7 separate regions of the Homo sapiens genome follow, and all the other regions are linked to region 7. The links are contacts of gene promoters, found by promoter capture Hi-C in human tissues and cell types (Jung and others, 2019). All regions are on one chromosome and are shown on one strand. The core of a region is centred on a gene start or on the middle of the fragment in contact, and the rest is flanking DNA. Distances in the headings are between cores, read along the strand shown. Region 1 has its middle 450 kb from the start of SPATA31D1. Region 2 has its middle 650 kb from the start of TLE1. Region 3 has its middle 390 kb from the start of SPATA31D1. Region 4 overlaps LOC105376107 (a long non-coding RNA gene). Region 5 overlaps LOC107987087 (a long non-coding RNA gene). Region 6 has its middle 480 kb from the start of SPATA31D1. Region 7 holds the start of TLE1 (TLE family member 1, transcriptional corepressor).

Evidence for each region. Contacts are between HindIII fragments. The study calls those that stand out against the background at their distance.
Region 1: a fragment that was not itself captured here is called in contact with the fragment with the promoter of TLE1 in region 7 in 1 of the 25 tissues and cell types used here (mesenchymal stem cells).
Region 2: a contact is called between a fragment that was not itself captured here and the fragment with the promoter of TLE1 in region 7, in 1 of the 25 tissues and cell types used here (mesenchymal stem cells).
Region 3: a fragment that was not itself captured here is called in contact with the fragment with the promoter of TLE1 in region 7 in 1 of the 25 tissues and cell types used here (H1 embryonic stem cells).
Region 4: a fragment that was not itself captured here is called in contact with the fragment with the promoter of TLE1 in region 7 in 1 of the 25 tissues and cell types used here (lymphoblastoid cells).
Region 5: a fragment that was not itself captured here is called in contact with the fragment with the promoter of TLE1 in region 7 in 1 of the 25 tissues and cell types used here (mesenchymal stem cells).
Region 6: a contact is called between a fragment that was not itself captured here and the fragment with the promoter of TLE1 in region 7, in 1 of the 25 tissues and cell types used here (mesenchymal stem cells).

Annotation. Positions count from the first base shown.
Region 1 is chr9:82,439,955-82,442,720 of GRCh38, reverse strand. No RefSeq gene overlaps it. Among named protein-coding and RNA genes, the nearest start is that of SPATA31D1, 450 kb to the right of the region's middle. The HindIII fragment of the contact is 4,143 bases long and covers 1-2,766 here.
Region 2 is chr9:81,034,789-81,037,557 of GRCh38, reverse strand. No RefSeq gene overlaps it. Among named protein-coding and RNA genes, the nearest start is that of TLE1, 650 kb to the left of the region's middle. The HindIII fragment of the contact is 5,929 bases long and covers 1-2,769 here.
Region 3 is chr9:82,380,484-82,383,451 of GRCh38, reverse strand. No RefSeq gene overlaps it. Among named protein-coding and RNA genes, the nearest start is that of SPATA31D1, 390 kb to the right of the region's middle. The HindIII fragment of the contact is 6,771 bases long and covers 1-2,968 here.
Region 4 is chr9:82,340,854-82,343,736 of GRCh38, reverse strand. The region is part of intron 4 of LOC105376107 (a long non-coding RNA gene); the gene reads right to left. Among named protein-coding and RNA genes, the nearest start is that of SPATA31D1, 350 kb to the right of the region's middle. The HindIII fragment of the contact is 6,616 bases long and covers 1-2,883 here.
Region 5 is chr9:82,501,031-82,503,888 of GRCh38, reverse strand. All of the region lies in intron 2 of LOC107987087 (a long non-coding RNA gene), which reads right to left. Among named protein-coding and RNA genes, the nearest start is that of SPATA31D1, 510 kb to the right of the region's middle. The HindIII fragment of the contact is 3,913 bases long and covers 1-2,858 here.
Region 6 is chr9:82,469,123-82,472,048 of GRCh38, reverse strand. No RefSeq gene overlaps it. Among named protein-coding and RNA genes, the nearest start is that of SPATA31D1, 480 kb to the right of the region's middle. The HindIII fragment of the contact is 4,989 bases long and covers 1-2,926 here.
Region 7 is chr9:81,688,214-81,691,342 of GRCh38, reverse strand. It overlaps TLE1 (TLE family member 1, transcriptional corepressor), which reads left to right and starts at 1,796. Exons shown (of 20, transcript NM_005077.5): 1 at 1,796-3,126. The coding sequence starts at 3,103. It overlaps TLE1-DT (TLE1 divergent transcript), which reads right to left and starts at 1,630. Exons shown (of 4, transcript NR_109772.1): 1 at 1,384-1,630. RefSeq lists silencers at 1,249-1,398, 1,549-1,898 and an enhancer at 1,771-2,485. The HindIII fragment of the contact is 9,578 bases long and covers 1-3,129 here.

The sequences.
Region 1 (2,766 bases), core at 58-2,557, 750 kb before region 7:
CTTTCCCTTATTCCAGCAATCTCTTCTTCCTCAGAAATGTCATTGCTCTTAGTAATTTTGTCACGAGTTAATCTATGTTTTCCCCAGGTTTCCATGGTACTTTAGCTGCCACTCCCTTCTAGCATTTAATTGCTACTTTCTTAAAGAACTCAAAGAGAGCAGTCAGTATAAAATCTCAACATTGGAGAGAATTTTGAGCACATCTAGTTTCTTTATATACCCAGGTAATCACAACTAGAAGCAGAGCAGTGATTATAATCTATACAACCTAATTTCAAGTTGACTGTTCTCACTGGTGTATTACACTGCCTCTTACTTAAATTCTATCTTGTCATACTTATGTTGAAACATGGCTTATCTTCACCTTGAAGACTAGATACCCATCTGATTTACTTTTGTATGAGTTCAGGACTAGCTAGGAAAAGATGGCAAATTAAAATTAGGTAGTTTGTATTGAATTTAATAAAGAGACCATTTGCAAAACTGAGGGCAGGGTTTATGTTTTCCCTAGCCAAGAGAAGACAGTTCAATACTCTAACAGCAGAAATTATGGGGAGCCATTATTGAGTCCTAAGGGGCAAAGCAGTGAACATTTACAAGAACCTAAGGACGGTGGCTCTGTGAGTAAAGCAACCCATCTAAGATGATTTAGCAAGAAGGTGGCAAGGAGGATAACTACTGCAACTTCATTCTCTTCCCACCCTAGATCTCATGCCAGCATCTCCCATTGGCTAAATTTAACGGAAGCTATATTAGGGTGTTCTTGCATTGCTATAAAGAAATGCCTCAGACTGGATAAGTTGTAAATAAATAGGTTTAATTGGCTTTTGGTTCTGTGCACTATACAAGCATGGCAACAACATCGCTTGGCTTCTGGAAAGACCTCAGGGAGCTTTTACTCACGGCAGATGGTGAAGCAGGAACTGGCATGTCAAATGGAAAAAACAGGAACAACAGAGAGAAAGAGTTGGGGGGTTGTTGCCACACACTTTTAAACAACATCTCCTGTGAATTCAGAGTGAAAGCTCACTTATTACCAAGGAGATGGCCCAGGCCATTCATGAGGAACCTGCCCCATGATTCAAACACCTCCCACCAGGCCCCAGCTCCAACATTGGGGATTACATTTCAATATGAGTTTTGGGTGGGGGCAAATCTCTAAACTATATCATTCCCACCTTCCTCCCACAAATCTCATGGACTTCTCACATTGCAAAATACTATCATGCCTTCCCAGTAGTCCCCAAAGTTTTAACTCATTTCAGCATTAACTCAGAAGCCCAAAGTCTAAAGTCTTATCTGAGACAAGGCAAGTCCCTTCCATCTATGAACCTATAAAATAAAAAACAAGTTATTTACTTCTAAGATACAATGGGGGTGTAGGCATTGGGTAATTCCCATTCCAAAAGAGTTAAATCAGCTGAAACAAAGGGGCTACAGGCCCCATGTGAGTTCAAAACCCAGCAAGGCAGCCATTAAATCTTAAATCTCCAAAAGAGTCTCCTTTGACTCTATGTCCTGCATCCAGAGCACACTAATATGAGGTGTGGGTGCTCAAAGCTTTGGGCAGCTCTGCCCCTGCAGCTCTGCAGGGTTCAGCCCCCATGGTTGTTCTCCTGGGCTGGCATTGAGTTCCTACAGCTTTTCCAGGCATACGGTGCAAGTTGTTAGTGGATCTACTATTCTGGGGTCTGGAGGACAGTGGCCCCCTTCTCACAGCTCCACTAGGCAGTGCACCAGCTGGGACACTGTGTGGGGGTCTAACCCGACATTTTCCCTCCACACTGCTCTAGTAGAGGTTCTCTGTGAGGGCTCCAGCCCTGCAGCAGGCTTCTGCCTGGGCACTCCAGCCTTCTCATACACCCTCTGAAATCTAGGCAGAGGTTGCTGAGCCTTTTTCACTCTTGCACTCTGTGCACCTACAGGCTTAACATCACATTAAAGATGCCAATGCTTACAGCTTTTACCCTTTGTTGCTGAAGCAGTCATTCGTGTTATACCTGGGGCCCTTTGAGCCACAGCTGGAGCTGGAGCAGCAGGGATATGGGGAGCAGTGTCCTGAGGCTGTGCAGGGAAGCTGGGCTCTGGGCCTAGCCCATGAAATCATTTTTCCCTCCTAGACCTCTGTGCCTGCAATGGGAGGGTCTGCCAGGAAGGTCTCTGAAATGCCTTCCAGGCTTTTTCCCATTGTCTTGGTTATTAGCACTTGGCTCCCTTTTAGTTATGCAAATATCTCTAGCCGGTGGTTGCTCCATGGACTGCTTAAATTACTCTCCCAGAAAGGTTTTCTCTTTCTCTGCCACATGGCCAGGCTGCAAACTTTTACACTCTGCTTCCCTTTTAAATATAAATTCCAACTTTAAGTCATTTATTTGCTCCTGTATCTGAGCATGGGTGTTAGAAGCAGCCAGGCCACATCTTGAATGCTTTGCTGTTTAGAAATTTCTCTGATAGATAGCCTAAATCATCACTCTGAAGTTCAAACTTCCACAGATCCCTAGTGTATGGACACAATGCAGCTAACCTCTCTGCTAAAACATAACATGCTGATCTTTGCTCCAGTTCCCAATAACTTCCTCATTTCCATCTGAGTTCTCATCAGCCTGGACTTCACTGTCCATATCACTAGCGGAATTTTGGTGTCAACAATTTAACCAGTCTGTAAGAAGTTCCAAACTTAATCTCATCTTTCTGTCTTCTTCAGAGCCCTCCAAACTCTTCCAACTTCTACCTTTTACCCAATTCCAAAGCTGCTTCCACATTTTC
Region 2 (2,769 bases), core at 23-2,522, 650 kb after region 7:
TAAGTAAAATGTAGTAGGGTCCTTGTCTGTGCTAAGTGTTTTTTTTAATGTTGCCATATTTAATTCCTAAAACAATCTTACAAAGTTTGAAAAGTTTTTCTTTTTAAATAATTAAGCAATATGATTTTCAGAATGGCTAAGCAACTTTCATAATGTCACACATATGATGTCTCCAGATTCCAAGTTTCATGTTCTTTCATTTACATTAATAATAATTCTAATATCAATACTTCATATGCACTGAATTTGAATAGGGCATTACACTGACTTAATCATGTATCACATCATTTTATCACCACAGTACACCTATGAGGTTGCTGCCAATGACTCTATGGAGATTAAAGGAAGTCAAGTCATTGACCCAGACTGCACAGGTAGAAGTTGTAGAGCAAGGATTTAAGGCCAAATAGTTCTAATTTTTCTGCCGGTGGTTGTCCTACTCCTTTACAACATCCATCATTTCAGGGGCTTATTCTTACCAAATAAGAGTCAATGTGAATGGGGGAACATACACATTTTGTTTAAATGTGACACTGTAGATTGCTCCTAAGATGTCACAGGCTGGGAACCACTAACCTAAGATCTCCTTTTGATTTTTAATTGAGTTGCTCCTGAAATGCCTTTAGCATCTTTGACTCCATGTTCTTTCTCTTCTTTGCTTCAGTAACTCCCATGCATTCTTCAAGCCTTAGAATAGCTGGAACCTCTTCTGAGAAGCTTTTCTTTCTACTTCCAGTCCCAATGGGTGCTGGATTTCAGGTGTGTGCCCTGGGCAAATCTCTATCACCCATCAACCACAAATTTTTCCTATTTTTCCCTCCACTAAAGTAGGTCTTTAAACTTCTAACTGTCATAGAACCTAGAACATGGAAGGTGCTTAAATAAGTTTGTCCACTGAGCAATTAATAAAAATTACTTCCTATCAACATATCTTACTATTTTTCTGCAGTCAGTGATTCATTCTCAACCAAAAACGTTTCTTTTCTCTACCATTGGATCGTGCTTCTCCTCTGCTCCCTGCTCTCAAGTGGTTTCCCTATCTCATCTGTGTTGGGAGCAAGAACTTTGTTTTGATGAAGGAGCTTTCATCACATCATTTTGAGTTTCCCATGTCATTTCTTCATTCTTAAGCTACCAGCATCTCCGCTCATTCAGGCTTTGGCACATGACATTTTCTCCAAAAATTAGTTTTGTCCTTTTTGTTTGTATCTGAATTCCTGCTTGCCTTTGTCTTTGGGTGGTATGTCTCTCTCTCTCTCTCTCTATATATATATATACACACACATACACACACATACACACATACATATATATGTGTGTGTGTATACATATATATGTATATGTATATGTATGCATGTGTGTATATACACACATATATATGTATATACACATACATATATGTGTGTATATAGAGACCATTTTGGTCTCTATATATTTATATATATTTTTTTTCCTAAAACACTAATTTCTTGATAGCTAAAACCATGTCCTTAACTCTCATTAATGGAATATTACATAAATAGAAAATCAAGCTAATGCTGTGACAGTCCAATTTTTCTCTGACTGAGGATAAAAATTCATATTTTTATCAAGGGTCTAGTAGAGTCCATGGAACATAGACAAACTTTCTTTAATATTTTTTTAAATTGAGCTTTAGAGGTTCAGTGTCTTCTTCAAGGTCCCTCAGCAAGAAAGTTGTCAACTTGATATGGCATGAGAGTAAGTCGTCAAGTCAATGAGGTTTCACTCTGATTTTCCAGTGGTTTGTGGTTTAGCAGCAATATTATGTCCATGGGGGGTTCAAAACTATAAATAAATTGGTCAGCTTGTAGACATAATTTTAATTAAAATTTTTCATCCATTTAGCTCCATAAGTCTTACTAAATTTGAAGTATTAATATTGGGGATAAGAATTAAGAAAGAAAGCATTAAAGGTATAGAATCTACCTTTTTAAAGGCACTATAAAGCACCTTCCTAGAGGTAGTTCCTTCTTCAGAGTGAATAATACAGCTAGAGTGGCATTTAGCTTAAAGCCCTGGCAGCTCACTTTTTTGGCTGTAAGGCATAATTACGGAGTTGGACACGGTGCATTGGCTACATTAGGGAAAAAGCTTGCAAGTCTTTCATTTATGTGGTTTGGAGTCAGAATGAAGTTCTCCAGATTTCTTTTTGATGCTTCTTATCTCTAGACAGATCCTTTTCATTAATTGGTTTATGCTTTCCCTCAGTGGATATCAGTTGAGAAACATAAATGTTAAATGACTCACTTTCATCCCAGAGAACATCTCCCACATTTTAGAATGAAACGTCATAATTGAGAATCAACAACCTTTTTATTTTGTTCCTAACGGACAATTAAAGCCAGACTCTTAGTAACTTGACATTCTTGAAAACCACCACATGACTTGATTGAGCCTATTTCTTGAACTGCAGAATTAACATAAAGACATTAAAATCTAGAGAGTAAACGATCAAGATGAGAAAAATTGAGGCATAAAATAGGGTGAAACCTGAATTATAGAAAAAGTTCTTCATTGCTTGAAAGATACAATTTACAAACTATTATCAGCTGTCAAAGATGATTGTGTTTAACATGGGGTTTGTGTGCAGCTCAGGGGAGATCCATGAAGAATTCTGAAATTATGGTTTAGTCAAATGATGGCAAATAGATTTTTCACTTGTGGATCAACTCAGAATGATTGGAGGAAGCTTCCAGGAGTATTTTATTTAAAAAAGACCTAGAAGTTGCTTCTGCCCTAGTGGGGAAG
Region 3 (2,968 bases), core at 112-2,611, 690 kb before region 7:
TATGTGTGGTGTATAAAGTATTATTTGTGTGTGTTGTGCGTCATCTATGTAGTAACCACACATTTTGCATGTGTGGTATGATCACACAGTATATATATTGGGTATATTTGTGTGTCACATATGTTTGTTGTGTGTATTTTGTGTGTTCTGTATGAGTGTTGCTTGTATTTTGTGCTAGTTGGGGCTCAAAAGACAATACCCCCAAAGTATGGCACTTTGACATGCTGAGCATTTTGAACTAAAATAGGAAGGCCTTAGAAGACGCCTCAGAACCAAAGACTTTCTAATCTTGTTTCTTCCCCTGTCTCCAAACACAGCATGGGACTGCCTCTGGAATGTCCTTATCTGACGAAGGAAACTTCTTTTCAAAAGAAATGCAATTGTCCTAAGACCCCCTCCTTAGGAATCTCATAAAAGAACTAGAAAAGACTAACCACTGAAAAAGACAGGAGACTAAAAGTCCATGATCATGCACAGATAGACTTTTTTTTTTTTTTTTTGAGATGGAGTCTCACACTGTCGCCCAGACTGGAGTGCAGTGGCGCAAGCTCTGCTCACTGCAAGCTCCGCCTCCCGGGTTCAAGCCATTCTCCTGCCTCAGCCTCCCGAGTAGCTGGGACTACAGGCACTGACCACCACGCCTGGCTAATATTTTGTATTTTTAGCAGAGACGGAGTTTCACCGTGTTAGCCAGGATGGTCTTGATCTCATGACCTCGTGATTCGCCCGCCTTGGCCTCCTAAAGTGCTGGGATTACAGGCGTGAGACACCACGCCCGGCCACAGAGATAGCCTTTTCACCTATTCTTCTGAGAGCAACTTTGAAAGATTACCTTAGAGACTTTATATGCATAATAAAACAACTTTCATTTACAATAAAGTTCTGCCCCTCACCTTCATACTACCTCCTCCAGAACTCAAGGAACTTTGTTTCAGGCCATTCTTTGGCCTTATTTCCCGTGAAAATCATTAAGTACTCCCCTATAAATTGCCTACATGCCCCCAGTTTCCTCTTCCCCGTAAAGAGAGTATTTAAGCTTCAACAATCTCCACTTTGAGTCTCATATTTGCAGGACTCCTGTGTCCACGAGCACGTTAATATATTTGTATGCCCTTTTCTCCTATAAATCTGTCTATTGTCAGTCATTTCAGTGAACCTTCAGTAAGTTAAGAGAGAGCTTTCCCTCTGCCCCTACAGCTGTTTGTGTATGTTGTAGTTGTGTGTATATGTCTGTGATGCTACCAGAGGAGCAGAATCAAACTGACTGCAGTTTGATTATCCAATTTACAAGGATAATTAATCCCATGGGTTTCTCTGTGCTTCGTTTTCCATGGGTCTTGTTTTGTGAGCTGGCTAAAAATTCAAGATATATGAATTTCTGCCAACATATTAACAGCCTCTGATCTCTCCACTATCAATTGGAGAAAACCAAGAATAACTGATGGTCTCCAATGCTTTCTCCATATATTAAGTAATAACTTACCTTTGAATCATATAGTTTGAAAATGTTCTCACAACAATTAATTTCCCCTACAGTTCTGAAAGGAAAAGTATTCTTTCCAACAAACTTGGAAAGAAGTCAGAATGCCCAATTTTCACCAAAATGGAAAGTGAGGCTCAGAAAGATTAAAGAATGTGCTTAAACTCATGACTTTATGTGGCAAAGCTAAGATTAGAAATCACATTTTACGGTTTCCAATCAAGTACTAGAAATATGATAATACACAAACTACGTTTCCCTTCCTGGACACATTTTCATTAATATTTTTTAATATCTAATAATAAGGTATTTCCTTTAAAGTGTTGCTGAAAGATTTTAATCGCTTTATGTATTAACACTTCCTTCCCTAGCAGATACGGCTTGGCAGGGAAAGACTAAATATGATGCTATGCACATGGTGTTCTCACCTTGGTTCAAACCCTCATTATTAGGATTTGGACCACTATATACAGAGATTCCATGATTTGGTGTCGTTGCCTCAAGTCTTGCTTTTTCTATTTCATCGTTTGCAGTGCTGCTGGGAGTAGTCTTTCAAAAATTCAAATAAGATCACCCTACTTACTAGGTTTAAACCCTTTGGTTGTCTCTACTGCACTAGCAAAAAATCCAGAATCCTTAGCAGAATTTTATTTTTAGTTCCAAGATACATGTACAGAATGTGCAGGTTTGTTACACAGGTACATGTGTGCCATGGTGGTTTGCTACACCTATCAACCCATCACCTAGGTATTAAGCCCAGCATGAATTAGCTATTTTTCCTGATTTTCTCCCTCACATACCTTGCTGAAAGACCCCAGTGTGTGTTGTTCTCCTCCCTGTGTCCATATGTTCTCATTGTTCAGATCACATAGATTGCAAAAATTTTCTCCCATTTTGTAGGTTGTCTCTTCACACTCTCATGATAGTTTCTTTTGCCGTGCAGAAGCTCTTTAGTTTAATTAGATCCCATTTGTCAATGTTTGCTTTTGTTGCAATTGCTTTTGACGTTTTTGTCATGAAATATTTGCCTGTGTCTATGTCCTGAATGGTATTGCCTAGATTTTCTTCTAAGATTTTTATAGTTTTGGGTTTTACATTTAAGTCTTTAATCCATGTTAAATTAATTTTTGTATAAGGTATAAGGAAGGGTTCTAGTTTCAGTTATCTGCATATGGCTAGCCAGTTCCCCCAGCACTATTTATTAAATAGGAAATCCTTTCCCCATTGCTTGTTTTTGTCAGGTTTGTTTAAGATCAGATGGTTGCAGATGTGTGGTCTTATTTCTGAGTTCTCTATTCTGTTCCATTGGTCTATGTGTCTGTTTTTGTACCAGTACCATGCTATTTTGGTTACTGTATCTTTGTAGTATAGTTTGAAGTCAGGTAGCATGATGCCTCCAGCTTTGTTCCTTTTGCTTAGGATTGTCTTGGCTATAAGGGCTCTTTTTTGGTTTCATATGAATTTTAACATAGTTTTTTCTAATTCTGT
Region 4 (2,883 bases), core at 71-2,570, 650 kb before region 7:
AAATGAGAAAATGTATATAAAAGTGATTAGACCATAGTTTTCAATAGATGTTATATGATTTTACTGTTGTTGTTTCTATTGTAATTTGCATTTTGAAATTACCTAGGCAGAAAAAAAGTCTCTAATGCTAAGGACAAGAATCCCAAGCAGAAGCTGAGAGAATGTGATGGGGAGTCTCACAGATCCTAGAGCTCCAGAATTTAAATTAAAGGCCTCCGGTAGTGGTTACATTTGGACAGTTAAAAAAAATGGTAAAGCAAATTAGCCTCATTTTCCTCCAGGCTCTTCCCCTTAAACTGTCTTTCATTTACATTTTCAGAAATACCAGCTGGGAAACAACCGTATTTGTGACCTAGTTCTTCTCCTGGGATGGAGGAGGGCCTAAGTGAGAAGATTCTGCCCAAAATGGAGTCAGCAGTCAAGGCTAAGTATGGGGGTAGTTTTGCTGACCATGGGCACAGGGCATGAAAAAGGGAAAAAGGAAGTTTTACATGCCTGGCAAAGGTAGATAGGGAAGAAAGGGGTAGCCCATAGGGTCTTAAAAGAAGACAAGAGAATAGAAACTGAAGACATACCAAAGGTAAAGAAAGCATGCATGCCACTGTGGATTGGCAGGATAAAAGAAGGGGTTCAGGTCAAGCCTGAAGCCATGATAACAGAAGTGTGGTGTATTAGTCTATTCTCACACTGCTATGAAGAATTACCTGAGACTGGGTAATTTATAAAGGGAAGAGATATAATGACTCACAGTTCCGAATTGCTGGGAAGGCCTCAGGAAACTTACAATCATGGCAGAAGGCAAAGGAGAAGCAGGCACCTTCTTCACAGGGTGGCAGCACAGAGTGGGTACAAGCAGGGGAAATCTCAGGCGCTTATAAAACCATCAGATCTCATGAGACTCATTATCACAAGAACAGCGTGGGGGAAACTGCCCACATGATCTGATTACCTCCACTTGGTCCCGCCCTTGACGCATGGGGATTATGGGAATTACAATTATAGGTGAGATTTGGGTGGGGACACAGAACCAAACCATATCTAGTTTTTAAGAATAACTTTGGTGCTCGGTGAGGAAACTGCTAGAAGTAATTCATTACCTTTGTTTGAGGTTAGTGGTAAAGAATATTAGATAATTGTGAGATTAAAACTTTAATTTCTTATCCTAAGTGAAGAAATAGGCTATCTCTTCAGAAAATAAAATATGCTTTTGGAGGTACGAATATGCATTTGAGAGAGGAGGTAGAAAAAAACTAGCTAGGCAAATAGTTCGGGAAAAAAGTCCTCGGCAGAACTTCCCTTCTGGCAAAAAGCAGCCCAAGAAATCACTTCTTTTCTAATAAAGAGCAGCCTGGAAGATCAGGCTGCAAACATAGATAAGGAAGCTGGAAGTTTGCAAGCGGGGAATGCCTGCAGCTGCACCGATAGAAAGGGGTAGCTGGGGGCCAGGCATGTCACCATGGGGGCTCCACCTCCTGCTTTTTAACACATACACAGTAGGAAAGCAACATGGAGTAGCTCAGGCAAAGGACCTGCCTATGTAATAAAAGATTGATGTGGGGGCTGCCAGAGATTCACCCTCTATTCAGATGGCACACCTGGTCCTAACCAGTTTTTCACACCCTATGTAGATAAGATGCTGCTTCCCCACTAGCTTATAAACACTTGCATTTCACTGCTGAATGGCAACCCTTTTTGGGACCCTTCTCTGCTGCAGATAGCTGTTCTCTTTTTTTTTTTTTTTTTTTTTTTTTTTTTTTGCCTATTAAACTTCTGCTTCTGCTCTAACCTGACATTTGGTGTGTCTGCGTTCTTGATTTCTTCGGCCATGAGACCAAGAATTTCAGGTGCTACCCCAAGCAACAAGGCTGTTTCACACTGAGCCAATCTTAAAAAGTTTTACTATTTTATTAAACTGACACAGAATCCATGACTTTCTGTGTTCAATATTCTTTCTGGTTCAAAAACAAAAAAGTTCAAAAACTCTAAACAATAAAACAAAACAAAATTTCAATCTACTTCCTAATGTTAATCTGACTCCCTTCGCCAAAAATTAAAATCTTCAAAATAAATCATACCTTACCAGAAAAATAATCTGCAAGTATTAGTAATGCACACAGTAAGAAGAAAATTTATAGTAAAGCACAGTGCTCATTAACAAAATAAATCAAGATTCAGCTGCATGTGGAAGAAAGCATCCAGTGAACTGATGTTAAAATTTGTGATAGAATCATTTTTTTCCTGCAATTTCCCAAGATTTCCTGCATTTACTGAGACCCTTCAGAATAAGTTACTGCTTTCTTCAGCACACTTCAATGTTTTCACTCGTGATATCTCTTAAAATCAGGCATGACTTCAAAGGCAGGGGCAATACACATTACTATTACATATTCTTTTTTAAAACCATAAATCTAATTTTTTATTCTTAATTACATTTTAATTATTACTTGTTTTTAAACAAAATTCAACCCATGTTGTGGTGAAATGTCAACTGTTTTTGCCAATTATAACCGTTTGATGCCTGGACAAATAACAAAGTTTGCTCTATGGATTCCTTTTTACTACCATATTGCTTATTTCTAGTTAGAGGGGGGAAAAGATATGTAGAATATTTGATATATGAAGGGAATTTTAGAGCTCATGTTTCCAAGTCTCAAAGTCCATTAAACTGAGATCCAGAGATCTTCTCGAAAAACTGTTGCGACATGAGAAAAGACAAAATGATATGAAATCTGGAGTTCTCCAACATCACCTTAACCAGGTCACCCTACAATGATGATACTGCCAATTAATCCCACTCACATGCTTAGAGCTTCCAATAAGTGATGTGCCCCTACTTGGAAATATGAGCAGACATCCAAGGACTATCAAATACTCTAAGGCTAT
Region 5 (2,858 bases), core at 238-2,737, 810 kb before region 7:
CCTAAAAAATTTGCTGAGGTTAGATCTCATGTTATGTGTTCTTACCATAAATCAATCAATCACAGATTGGGGCAGAAGGTGATCTGGATCTTCCTGAACATTTTAACTTTACTTATGAATGGGGCAGACACTGAGATTGAGCATTGATAATTCAGAGATTTATTCATGTCCTCATGGATATTACATAACTTTTTATAATGCCAAATATGTACCATCAAAAATGTGTAGGAACATAGGCCCTGACAGATGTTGAACACTCTTTTTCATCAGAATCATGAATCTTTGTTTCCATGAATCTTGAAAAAAAGACTGCCTAAGATCTTTGAAATGAATATATACAACATAAAACAAATCCATCATAATTAAAAAGCGACTCAAAGGAAATAAACTTCTAGAAGGGAAAAAATAAAAGCAGCCGCTAGACCCCACACCACACCCATAAACTGTTGCACAACTGTTACCACCTCCAGTGATGATGTACTGCCAAACCAAAGACCAAGGTATTCCTAGGATGATATGCTAAATTCCTTACCCAGGCATCCCTGTAGATCCTGTGCATTACAAAAAAAGAGGAAAATTGGTTTATCTCCATGGACAAAGAGTTGGTAGAAAAGAAAAATTTTTAAGGCATGTGTCTGCTGGCGGAGCTCTAGGTAGTATCCTTGGGAATTCTTGCCCTTCCAAAAGATTCTTTGGGGTTATATTGACAGCTTATCTCCAGAACACAAAGAGAGTGTCTGGAAAACACAAAAACTATCAATAAGTAGCTATCACTTTATTGAGAAAATGGAAAATGTGGTAACAAAATGGAATAATTTTGTTCAGAAGCCCTAAAGTTTGCTTTTACTCCATTGAGTGTATAAAAATATGTAAATTGAATTCTCAAGCAATCACTAGGATGCTTCTTTTTGCTTTCTGTGCACCAATTGTGAATTTCAGATGCAGTAAATACCAGTGAGTCCCACAGTTTGGATTGGAATTATTTGATGAATATGCTTATTACCTTGTGAAGCTTGCTAAGGGAGATAATTTATATTTCAGTTACAAACAAGTGTGCAGGAATGGATGGATTCTACAGTAACACCACAACCATGGATATTCGAGCTACCTCACTGAACAAATGTTTATTAAGCCTAATATCTGTTATGTGACATGTCCTGTGCTAAACAATGGGTGCCCATAGATGAATAAAATATTATCCCTTCCTTTTGGGTCTTATTCCCTAATGAGGAGGAATTCCAGAGTTTAAACTTAATAAACGGATTGTTTTCAATTCTATAATGGAGATATAGAGGTTTCTGACTCATATACCCAACTGTTTTCTTGGAAGTATAATACAATGGTTATGAGCATAGTCTTGAGATTTGCACTGACTTGGACTTGCATCTAAACTCCACCTCTTACAAACTGAGTGACTTGGCATGTTATGAGCTTCTGTTTTATTGACTTTAAAATGAGGACAAAATGTTAGCTACTTCACAGGTTGTTATGACAAGTAATTGAGATCATTCACGTAAAAAAACCTTGCACAGAGTAAATCTCCAATAAAAATTAGCTCAGATTATTACTACATTCCAGGCTAACACTTGGGTGTGCACCATTAAGGATCTTGCAAGAGAGTGTAAGAGACATCCTCCTCTGTAAATAGCTCCATTCACAGAGATGTCACTGTTCTCTCCCTTAAGAAAACATTGAGTATTTCCCCTTTGCCACACCATGATCTTTGATCTGGATTGGAAATACTCATTTTCATTTTATAGGACCCTTACAAAAAATATAAGTCATATAACTAATAAATTATGTCTTATATTAATAAGATTATAAATAAAAGATAAAACATATATAGAGCCTTATATAAAATGGCCCTATAATTAGCTGAGATAAGACAGAGGAGGCATAATAGGAATTCATAAATTTTCTCTTTGGTTATAAGGTTTCTTTCTTTGTTTACTTTAGTAGTGAGGTGTAGCATACATACTATAAAGTATGCAAGTCTTTTATGTACAGTTCAATAAGTTTTACTTATGTGCATACCTATTGACCACTTTCCAGATCAAACACCCTTTCTCACGTACCCTTCCAATAATTACTTCCTCACCACACCCTTTCTCACGTACCCTTCCAATAATTACTTCCTCACCAAATGTAACCACTCTTTTGATTTCTATATATGTGTGTGTGTATATATATATATATATGTTTTGCCTGTTTCAGAACTTCACATAAGTAGAATCAAATATTATGTACACATTTATCTCTGCTCTATCATTCAACATTATGTGATATTCATTCAGGTTGCATGTTGGAGTACTCTTGTTTTTTTCATTAGGTTTGATTCTTTTGGTAATTTTCTATGGGCACATTAATTTTATCTACAAATAATGGCAACTGTAGTTTTCTTCTACATTACTGATGCTTGTTTCTTTTTGTTCATTTTTCTTATCTTATTGCAGTGGATAGAACATTCAGTATAATATTAAATAGAAGAGTTAAAAGCAAGACATTCTTATGTCATTCTCAGTTACAGAAAGAAAGCTTTTAGTTATTTATTTTAATATTATTGCCATTAAATATTATTTTGGTATCAATTTCTGGTAGGTACTCTGGCACATTAAGAATACCAGGTATTTTATTCTGAAGGATTGTTATCCTAAGTAACTGCTTTTTAAAAATCTGTTGTGATGGTCACATTAGACTTTTCCACCCTTTTTTAGTATAACAAATAACATTTATTTCTTCTTCTATTATTACGCCAATTTTGTATAACTGGAATAAAGCCTACCTAGACACAATATATTGCTCTTTTTTTGTAATCCTGGGTAGAATTTACTAATTTTTTATTTTAAAATTTTGCATCT
Region 6 (2,926 bases), core at 276-2,775, 780 kb before region 7:
TTATGTTTAGGCAGTTTCCTACTATTCTTAATCTATTGAGTGTTTTATCATGAAAGGATGTTGAATTTTGTCAAATGCATCAATTGAGATAATCACTTGACATTTTTCCTTCATTCTGTTAATGTGGTGCATTATATTGGTCAATTTTTGTATGCTGAACTATCCTTGTATTCCAGGAATAAATTCCACTTAGTTGTGGTGTATAATCCTGTTAATATGCTACTGAAGTCAGCTTGTTAATATTTCATTAAACATTTTGGCATCAATGTTCACAAAGGATATTGGTCTATAGTTTTCTAGTTTTCTTTTCTTGTGATGTCTTTGTCTGGATTTGATATCAGCATAATGCTGGCCTCATAAAATAAGTCAGAAAGTTCTCCCTCCTCTTCAATTTTTTTGGACAAATTTGAGAAGGTGTGGCATTGGTTTTTCTTTAAATGTTCAGTAGAATTCTCCAGTGAAGCCATTAGGTTTGAGGGTTTTCTTTGTTGGTAGATTTTTGAATACTGATTCAATCTTTTTTACAAATAACAGGTCTATTCAGATTGTCTATTTCTTAATGATTTAGCCTTGGTAGGTTTTGTGTTTCCACAAATTTGTCCATTTCATCCAGGTTATCCAATATGTTGGCATACAGTTGTTCATTGTACTCTCTTATAATTCTTTTATTTCTGTAGAAATGTTAGTAATGTCCCCATTTTTTATTTCTGATTTTAGTTATTTGAATCTTCTCTCCTTTTTCTTAGTTCTAGCTAAAGGTTTTCACTTTTGTTCATATTTTCTAAGACCAACTTTTGGTTTCATTGATTTTTCTCTATTGTTTTCCTATTCTCTATTTCATTGATCTCTGTGCTATTCTTTATTTCCTCCTTTCTGCTTTGAGTTACTTTGTTCTTCTTTTCATAGTCCCTTAAGTTGTAAAGTTAGGTTGTTAATTTTAAACTGTTTTTATTTTTTAATGTAAGATCTTATAGCAATACATTTCTTTCTTAGCACTGATTTTGCTGTGTCCCATAAATTGGGCTATGTGATGGTTTTGTTTTAATCTGTTGTTAAGTATTTTCTAATTCCTTTTTTATTTCTTCTTTGATCTATTAATTCAGAGTGTGTTATTTAATTTCTATGAAGTTGTGAATTTTTCAGTTTTATTTCTGTTACTGATTTTTAACTTCAATCTGTTGTGGTCTGAGAAGATACTTTGTATGATATCTGTTTAAATCTATTGAGACCGAATTTGCAGCCTAACACTTGGCCTAAATTGAAAAAATGTCCCACGTGCACTTGAGAAGAATGTGTATTATTTAAATCTTCTGTTTCCTTAATCATTTTATGTATAGTTGGTCTATCCATTTTTGAGAGTGGGGTGTTGAAGTCTCCAAATATTATTGTAGAACTGTATATTTTCCCCTTGAATGTCATCAGTATTTGCTTCATATGTTTGATGTTCTGTCATTAGGTGTTTAAATGTTTATAATTATTATACTTTCTTACTGTATTGAAACTTTCATTAATATATAATGTCCTTCTTCATCTCTTGAATAATTGATTTTTATTCATACTTTTTCTTTTTTTGCTAGAAGAACTATCTGGATGGTGAAATTAAAGGTCATTTCTCCCTTACACTTTAATGTTTAAAAAAACTAATACATGTTACGAAAATTCAAACTAGCCTGCAGCACTAAAGAAAAACAATAAACACTTTCCAACCACACTTTCTTAGCAAAATGTCTTTTTCTTATTTTTAACAATGAGTTATTTCTCATCTGCTTAATCTCATCCTCCTAATTTTAGATGCAGTTTGAAGCATCGGCAATGCTCTAGTGTGTTTGTAATTCTATTGTTTTCTTATGTTCCATTTCTTCTACTGTATTTTGAAATAATCACCCTACCACTACTCAGTCCTCAGTCATAATAATATGTTTTTAGAGTCAAATCCAATCCAGTGCAAATAAAGTATCAAACCTACCAAAAAAGACCCTTTTCTCTCTTCTTAAGAAACGAAGAGTTGAGTGATGACATGCTCTCTTTGCCATGGGCATTGTTACTGAAGATATCAAGTTGATATATTCAGGCATTGCAGCAGGAAATAGGAAAGGTTTTCTTTTTTAATTCCTATTCAAATTATCCAAAGAAAGTAGCCCTAAAATGCTCTATCTGAGTCAGAGAGTTTCTGCCATTTATCAAATACATTGCACTTTATTGTAAGTCTGAAGGAATTATATTTGAAACTGACTGTAAGTTTGTAATAGGCAGATCCATTATAGTTTGTTTCACTAGAATAAAACATGACAATAAAATATCTCTGGAAATACATCTATCACAAGTTAGCTTCTCTGGAAGCAAATGATGAAATGGAACATAGCATGCTAGATGTTGATTAGGGATCTATATCTGTGGAAATGAGGAGGATAAAGCAGGATTGGTCAAAGAGAGAAGTCAAACTGTGGTGTAGGCCCACAAAGCCTTGGCCAAACCCACGGGAAGCTCTCAAGTGTACATGACATGAATGTGTCCCAGAGTGGATTAAATGGTTGGGACTTCATATCCTTGCTGCAATTATTTATTAGATTTGGGCTGTCTCAGGAAGGGTTTACCCTTGAGTGATGTAGCTTTCTGCAGCTGGGGCAATTCAGAAGGGGCCGAGAGCTAGAAGCTGACTGCTGAACTCCCAGTAGCTGGACAACAAGTCATTCAATAAATGGGAATCTGGGCAGTGCTTCTTCACACCACTACAATTTCTACTTAAGAGATATATCAACCAATTATAATTGGGAAAATTATTTCAATCCCGATGTGAGCAAATACAACACATTTTAAAAATAAGCATTTATGAGACAATCATGGAAACTTGAACAGGTGACTGGATATTTAATGATATTTAGACATTATTGTCAATTTCTAAGTTGTGTAATGGTCATATTTTGAA
Region 7 (3,129 bases), core at 547-3,046:
TTATAGACAAATCAATATCATACATATTTAAAAACAACTCCAACAGTGAAATGTATTATCTAAAATGACTTCTAAAACTATTTCAAGAAAAAGAACTCTGTAAAAGCACATCTTTAAATAAAATGTATGTCTGTTTAAATAAGCTCCTTCCCGTAAGTCTCTTGAAGGTAAAATAATAAAATAATAACGTGGGGGTTATTAATACCAAAAACTTAACTAGTTTCCAACATAAGATAAATACTTGTCCAAGATGTGCCCTTATGGAAGAAGTTACCACCGTTTGGCTAAACCAGCATTATTCATTCACTGCTCATGTGGAAATGTTCCTCAAACAAAAGCATAAATGCGGCAATACTGACGGTTTTCTGCTGTGTATTTAGAGACATACACAAAAACCAAAGACTCTCAGCATTAATTATACAGCATGTCTTGATTATTACAATCTCAAAATCCCTTTTAACTCAAGTTCCACTTCATAAGAACCTTAGCCACGTCATTTACCTAACTCTTCCCATTTAGCTCTTCACACAGCTCAGCTCAGGAGTACCACCCAGACTGTGGGGGTGGGGTGTGCGGGACAGGTTTTTCAGGTCTCAGTGCTGGTTTATTACATTGTCTCTCTTTGTTCCCAGGAATTGGAAACAGACTCGTAGTCTTGTAGCTGAGAAGTTCCTAAAAACCTCAGCCGCTCCCCACCTCTCCCAACACAGCGAAGTCAGGACTTTTAAGACGAAGACCTGGGATTTCGCGCCCCGGGCAAAACGTCTCATCTGCGGACACGCGTGCCTTGTTCTGGCAGCACCCTGGGAATCCTTCCCGCCAAACGGGACAGGACGATCTTTTTGAAAAGTGGCTTGAAATCCTGCAATAAAAATCAAATCCTACCACTTTGGGTGCAAAGGGGGTGGGTGGGGTGGGAGGACATCACAGTCGTCTTTGCTGGTGTACCTACGCCAACCGTGGCGTTGCTCATTTACGCATTTCCAACTAAGTGCACAGTCCACTCCCTCTCGTACATCCGTAAAAAGGCAGCTCAAGGAAAAACAAACCTCAGATAAATTTTTGAATGTGGCCTCACTTTTAGAGTAGCATCAAACAAGGGGTCCAGCACTGAAAAACACATTTGCTCGAATTACCAAAAGCCCCCCTCCGCCTCCAATAAGAAACTCCGCAGCTAGTCTTTGAGTTACTTTCACTTAGATCTGAGGATTTTCATTAAAGGGAAAAGTGAGCAAGTGGCAGGATTTTTGCTAACTCGAGCCCTCAGCTTCCCCGGCTGCACGCTCGCCAGTCCCTCCCGCTAGCGCGCGCCCGCGCGCTCTCTAGCCAGCCCCACGTTACTTTGATTGACAGCCCAGCCCCGCCGCTCTCCTTCCCACCGACCTTCCCATCATCAGTGCCAATCTCCGCGAATCGCCGCTTCCCATTGGCTGGTTTTGGCGTCCCGCGGCTCCTCCAGGAACAGTTCCTCACCAAGCCCGGGAGGACGCGGCTGGCGGAGGAGGGGCCGGGATGGGAAGGGAGACCGAGGAGACGGCGGAGATGGAAGCGAGAGGAGGGGGGGAGGGAGAACGCCCCGTCCGGCGCTGCGCTGCCATACGCTCCGGGGAGGAGCGCGTCAGCGCCCCACGTTGGTTGCAGCGCACGCGATTGGCTGATGCGGGCCTTCTGCCCCCCCCCCACCCCCCAACCTCCCGGGCTCACGTCCCCCGCCGGCTCCGCGCTCGCGCCCCCCGCCCGAACGGGGCTGGGCGGGGCCGGCGCTGGTTAGCTCCGGAGTGTGAAACCGCGTGTTAATGTAAGCGGCGCGAGAGGCGCGGGCGGCGGCGGCGGTGGGAGCGGCGGCTGCAGAAGCAGCAGCAGCAGAAACAGCGGCGGGTACTCTGTGCCCCGCGTCCCGGAGGCAGCCGACTGCGCCACCCCACCCTCGCACGGCCGGGCGGGACCCGCGCCACCAGCCCGGACCTCCGTCGTCCCGCGGCGACCAAAACCCCCGCTGGCCCCACCGCTGTGACTACTCTGGACTCGCCCGCAGAGTTTGCCCGCCGGGGAGGGTGGCCGATTGGCGGAGCGCACTCCTGCTGTTTTCCCCACCATCTCGTGGATGTCGTCCCTCGGGTGGTGAGAGAACTTTGCAGTGGGCTGGAGCGCCCTTTGCGGAGAAGCACACGAAGGTGAAGGAAGGAAAGAAAGAAGACCGAGGAAGAAGGAGCTCGGAAGAAGGGTCCGGAGCGGCCGGTCCGGCCGTGCAGGGCGAGTGCGCCCGAGGCGCGGCGCCCTGATGCTCCCCGGGCTCGAGGAGCATTGGGCACTTGCGGGACTGCTCTCGGTGGAGTAGCCCCGTCGGGCCCGGAGGGTTTGTGCAACCGCGGAGAACACCGAGTGCTGGTCGCACGGGGCGTGCCGAGCCGCCTCCCGGCGCGCCCTCCGCACTTTCCCCGCCTCGTCATCCGTCGCTCCCCGGCCAGGAGCCTCCGCTGCGTCTTCAACCTCGCTCCCCTTTGCGTCCCGGGAGCCTGCGAGCACCCGGCCGAAGGCGCAGCCGAATCTTGCGGGAGTCGCCCCGAAAGCGTCGGGTTTGTGTGGGGTTAGCGGGGGCCGCCGCGCCACCTGCACCTCGCCCGCCGCCGCCTCGGGGAAAGCCCGAAGAGGAGGCGGACCAGGAGAAGAGCAAAGAAAAGCAGTCCGTCTGGATTTGTTTGCCCAGGACTGGCGCCGCGCACGCGGATCGCCGAGGGGAGTGCGGTCGGAGTCACCGCGCCCCCGCCTCCCCGCCCGGGCAGCTGAGGCCGGGGGTTGGAGCGCTGCCCCCGCGCACAGTCCCCGAGCGCCCGACGTCTCCGCGCAGGTTCTTGAAGCAGCTGGGCCTGGGGCGCCCACTAATGTGGCCCTGAGGGCCGGAGCCCGCACCGACGGGAGCGGGAGCCGGAGCAGCTGCGGGCGCCGAGTGGCCGGTGCGCCCGGCGGAGCGCGCGTGCGTGGCCAGCGCGCTCCCCGCTTCTGCTTGGCTTTCCGGCTTAATTTTCCTCGGCGGGATTAAAGTTGGAAATTGACCGGAGAATTGAGTTGCCGGGGAACAGAGCCCCGGCCGCCGCCAGAGCGATGTTCCCGCAGAGCCGGCACCCGGTG